Linked DNA regions of Homo sapiens: region 1 is linked to region 2. Evidence: promoter capture Hi-C in human tissues and cell types (Jung and others, 2019). All regions are on one chromosome and are shown on one strand. The core of a region is centred on a gene start or on the middle of the fragment in contact, and the rest is flanking DNA. Distances in the headings are between cores, read along the strand shown. Region 1 overlaps NUDCD3 (NudC domain containing 3). Region 2 holds the start of POLM (DNA polymerase mu).

The links. The method cuts DNA at HindIII sites, captures the fragments that hold promoters and counts their contacts. A contact is called where the count stands out against the background at its distance.
Region 1: a contact is called between a fragment that was not itself captured here and the fragment with the promoter of POLM in region 2, in 1 of the 25 tissues and cell types used here (adrenal gland).

The regions. Positions count from the first base shown.
Region 1 is chr7:44,393,241-44,395,940 of GRCh38, forward strand. The region is part of intron 4 of NUDCD3 (NudC domain containing 3); the gene reads right to left. Among named protein-coding and RNA genes, the nearest start is that of CAMK2B, 69 kb to the left of the region's middle. The HindIII fragment of the contact is 5,065 bases long and covers 1-2,700 here.
Region 2 is chr7:44,081,280-44,083,979 of GRCh38, forward strand. POLM (DNA polymerase mu) reads right to left here and starts at 1,251. Exons shown (of 11, transcript NM_013284.4): 1 at 972-1,251. The coding sequence starts at 1,159. RefSeq lists an enhancer at 1,025-1,525 and a silencer at 1,237-1,816. The HindIII fragment of the contact is 16,372 bases long and covers 1-2,700 here.

The sequences.
Region 1 (2,700 bases), core at 82-2,581, 310 kb after region 2:
GGCACAGACATCCCTTGGTCAAAGGAAGCAGCACCCAGCATTTAAGATCCAGCCCTCAGTGTTGGGGTCTGTGAGACTCATGTCATTACCATAAAAACTTAAAAGACAACTGGAACTGCAGTATGAGAGCAAACGTGAGGGGTGCTGTATGTACCTAGGTGACCCTGGCTGCTTGGCCTGTCCCAGGGACACAGAGGAGGGCCCTGGCCACACCATGCCCTGTTATCAGTGGTCATACAGACACAGAAAACAAGAAAACTGGCTGCATCTGCTGTGGTCAGTGGCTGGGCTCAAAATTCTTACCAGAGTGGCCAAGAAGCAACAGAGTGGGTTTGTCTACTTTGCCCTAGATGAGCACTGCACTTTTTCAACAGAAATACTTGATCTGTGTTTAGATTTCATAATATTTACAATTGAAAGAGGTACATTCACATGCCCAAGTGTGATGGGACTCTCTGATGGGATTAAACCACTAGGTGCTCACAGAAAGGGAGAAAAGGTAGCAAAGGGCCCGCAAGTGAGAGCAGCTCTCATCCATGGAGGTGGCAGCCACCAGGACACTTACTGACCAGGTGGGCAAAACCTACCAAGCCACACTCAGGGTAACTGTGACACTCAAGAGGTCACAGTGAGTCCACAGGACACCACGTCCCCCCAAGAGGGAGCACTGGAGACTCACCAGTATACACGGGCTTGAGAGAGCAGTGTCCTAACACTGCACCTTCCACCTTCCCACCTCCAAGCTCCTGCTGCCAAAACCTACCCACACCAAAGAAGGTACTCAGCACCAGACTCTGCAGAGCCCAGGGATCAAGTCCGAGAATGTGTTCTACTAATGAAGAGGGTGGGCACCGATGTGGTGCGGGAGAGCACACAGTGGAGATTTTCCAGAACTGGGAAGAGCAAGACAAAAACCTGCAATCATGATCTGAAGCCAGCATCCCAGAAATCTTGTCTGACATTCCGAATGCAGATAGGGGGAGTGGTGAACAGGGGGAGTGGGTGGCTCCCCTACACGCCAGCTCTACCCAGTAAATGACGCTGCTCTGCCAGTGTGCAATTTAAATTTGGGATGAATCTTCCATTTCCAGATACTCTGCTAAGCTGGTTTGTCGTTGACTTTACAGTTTGTGTGACGGGGACCTGACTCACCCTCAGAGACCCCAACACTACAAACTCTACCTCGTCTTTACCAAGCTGATGCAATGAAAACCTTCCAAGAGGGAAATGCATTGTTTTCTCTATTCCAGGGAAGACTTCAGAGGAACTCACAGAACTGTAAATCTCTGGAAAGAAGAGATCCTTTACGAATTTTTTATCTTCACCAGTAGTTATTACTGTGATCCATGTAACTTATTTTATTAGCGTTCACAAGTCCTGTAAAACACATACCATTACCATTTACCATACATACCATTTTTTGTATTTAAAAATGAGGACAAACCCTTGGAAGTAAGGGCCTTTTCCAGATTGCCCAGCATGAAGAGGCAAAGCAGAGCTACACTGGGGCTGACAGCCCACCATCAGCACCATGTGGGCAGGGGGTCGGCCTACATACCATCCAGGGGACGGTGCTGGTGCTCTCAGGCCTTTTGGCACTCCACAGACCCCAACACAGGGTTTCACTGGCCAGGTCCAAACACACACCCAGAGTGGAGGGCTCCTGGGCACAGTGGGAGATGGACCTGAAGACAATGAGCCACCTGCCCAACAGGAAGGAGGGGAACATCCCCAAATCTTCTGTGTCCACAAGTGTACTTTGGACACAGAAGTACACTTGAACCCAACAAAAATTAAGATGAGCACTGCACTTTTTCATCAGAAATACTTCATCTGTGTTCAGATTTCATAATATTTACAATTGAAAGGGTATATTCACATGCCCAAGTTGTTTCAAAAATATTCAAGGTTTTCCAGTAACTAAATCAAGTAGGTTTTAAATTTAAGTTAATTAAAATAAAATAATTCAGTTCTCCAGTCACGTGAGCCACCTGTCAAGTGTTTACTCAGCTGCCACATGTGGCTAGCAGCTACTGTGCTGGGCAGTGCAGCTCTCCAAGGGGGCCATCCTCACTCACAGACGTCACGCATGTGCATCAGTGTGGTATTTTATGAGGAGATGTGAGCCGACTTTATATTGAACAATTTCTAATGGAGGCAAAATCCACTTAACACAAAACTTACCATTCAAAAGTGAACCAATGGCATGTAGTATATCCACAATGGTGCACAACCATCACCTTTATCTAGTTTCAAAACACTTTCATTACCTCACAAAGAAGCCCTGTGCCAATTATCAGTCACTCCCCATTTGCTCTAACCCTTCCTCTAAATTGTTCCCTCAACCCCACCAAGCCACTGGCAACTACTAATGATTCTGCCTCTACAGATTTGCCGGTTCTGGACATTTCACACAAATGGAATAATACAGTTATCTGTTTGTTTTTGTCTGGCTTATTTCACTTGGCATAATGTCCTCCTCAATGTTCATCTATGTTGTAGCATGAATCAGAACTCCATTCCTTTTTAAGGTTGAATAATATTCCACTGTATGGATAAACCACATTTTGTTTCATCAACTGATGGACATTTCAGGTGCCCCCACTTTTTGGCTGTTGTGAATAATGCTGCTATGAACATTGATGTACATACATCTGTTTGAGTCCCTGTTTTCAATTCTTCTGTATATTTACCCAGAAG
Region 2 (2,700 bases), core at 1-2,500:
CTGCCTGCCACATACTTGTTTGGCTCTTGGGCAAGCCACGTGTCTATACTTTGATTTCCTCTTCTGTAAAGCAGAGATAACATATCCACCCTGTGGGGTTGTTGTACAAAGATAGTGCCTTGTACACTCTAAGCTGCTATCATCCTCTCCTGAGTGGGTCTGGCGCACTACTGATCCCTGGTAATGTTAAAAAATCAAACACAACTGTGGGGGAATACTAGCCCCAGGTTCGTTTGCTCTCTCAACCTCCAAACTAGGGGGCACCCCCAGCTCCCTTACTCTGGGTGTTGTCTCTGTAGCCGCCATTTTTTCTTCTCTTGGTTCCCTTCCTACAAGAGCTTCTCAGTCGTGTTATTTACTCAGGCCTGAGGACAGAGGAGCCTGCGGGCTCCGGGCCTCTTGAGAAGTCAGTCTCGCTCACAGGTGGGACATAGCCCAGGCAGAAGGGCTGTTAGCAAATACGACTTTTTTTTTTTTTTTTTTTGAGACAGAGTCTCACTCTGTCGCCCAGGCTGGAGTGCAGTGGCGCGATCTCGGCTCACTGCAAGCTCCGCCTCCCAGGTTCATGCCATTCTCCTGCCTCAGCCTCCCGAGTAGCTGGGACTACAGGTGCCCGCCACCACCTCCGGTTAATTTTTTGTATTTTTAGTAGAGACGGGGTTTCACCGTGTTAGCCAGGATGGTCTCGATCTCCTGACCTCGTGATCTGCCCGCCTCGGCCTCCCAAAGTGCTGGGATTACAGGCGTGAGCCACCGCGCCCGGCCTACTGCTTATTAATTACCCCTGACCTCTGGTTTTGATTCTCGCAGTGATCCTTTAAAACACGCCTCGCCCTAATTAATAGCACCCTTTACAGAAGAGGAGATGGAGGCTCAGGGAAAGGTCACAAGACCACGAAGTGCCACTGCAAACTTAGAATCCAAAACCAGAAGTGCCATGGAAGCCCTCGCCGCGCCGCGCCGCCCCGCACCTGCAGGCGTCAAGGACGCGGAAGCCTTTGGAGCGCGCCAGGCCTGTGAGGAAGGCCCGGCGGCTGCGACCCATGCGAGGCTCGACCAGGTAGATGGCGACTCCCGGGAAGCGCGTCGAGGGCGGCGTGGAGGAAGCGGCATCGCCGCTAGGGGACCCGACCCGCGCTCGCCGCCGTTTGGGGAGCATTGGGACGACAGCCTCCAGCAGCGCGGAGCGAACGCAGAGGGAAACTCCGAGCGAGACGGAAGGAAGCCCCAGTGAGGCTGACGGAAGCGGGTGGGCGGGCGGGCGGCCGCCGGCTGGAAGAGGACGTGGCCCCGCCCTATGCAAATGAGGCCTCTCCGTGGGGCTCGCTACTTGGGCCAGTCGGAGCGCTGGGGAGGGTCCGGGCTCCTACAGGATTGGGTGTCCCGGCCGCTCCGGAAGACCCGCCTCCATGCAAATAACGGCAGAGGACCCGCCTTTTATTTAAATTAATGTCTCGGAAAGCGCTGTTCGGCCCCATTGGCCTCCGGGAGGAGAGGCTGGGCTGGAGCGGGGCGGGGAGGGTGTTGGAGGGGGTGGAGGAGGCGGGGTCAAGGGGGCGTCCCCGGCTAGGGAGGGTGAACTGGGACCTAGGCCCGGGCGGAGCGGGGTGGGCTGTGTCCTTGGCGCCGGGGCTGGGTCTAGGGTTGAGCCGGCGGCTCGGGGCGGACGCGTGCGGGCTGTGCCCGATCCCTCTGCGCTCGGGACTGTCACACGGAAGCCGGCGGGCGCAGGACCGACACGCGGGTTTCCAATGCGCTGGTGGGGCGGTCGCTTCAAACACGCGGGAAGATTTTTCAGTCGAATGGCATTAGGACAACTGGCAGGCCATTTGGAAAAATAGAAGTTGGTGCCCTTCCTCATTCCTTAACACCAAAATAAATTCCAGATGGGTCAAACATTTCCATCTAAAAAGGAAACCAACAACGTACTGGAAAAAAGTCGGTGAATGTTTTTATGATCTAAATATCACAATAAACTTGGAAACACTAAAGGAAAAGAATGATAAACTGGACTACAGACAAATTTTAAATCTGATTAAAAATTAGAGTCAGAAGATAAACTGGGATAAAGTGTGAGATATTTTGGAATTAAGATTATCTCATGATAATCTTATCAAATTGTCCATAGATAAAAAGACAATAATTTAATAGAAAAATTAGCAAAAAAACTCACGTAGATGATTCTTAGAAGAAATCCTGGTCAATAAATTTATGACCAGAGTGCCCAACCTGTCCAGTCGTTACAGAATACCTAAATGAGAATATCTTCAGTTGTGGGTTTATCAAACATTCAAAAAAATTGACCACACATGTTGAAGGTGCGAGGTAATTGGCAATCCATAGGAAGGACTGTGGAAGCCAATGTGGCAACCACATCCAACAAAATGAAAACAAAATAATACACATTGATCCAGCAATTCCTTTCCCAAGATTGGGATTGCATTGAATCTATAGATCAAGCTGGGGAAATCTGATGTCTTGATAATATCAAGTCTTCTGTCTATCTTATTTAGATATACTCCATTTGTAACCTCTGTTACGGTAGTGTGGCACTGCTCAGCCTAACTGATGGGACACCAGATCAGATGCAACCCCCTTCCACATGCCTCTCCTCATCACTGCCCCATCGTCCTCAGTCTTGAGCCCCAGACTCCTTGAGCACCTATCCTTTTTCTTTGGCTCCTCTCTGACATCTTTAGT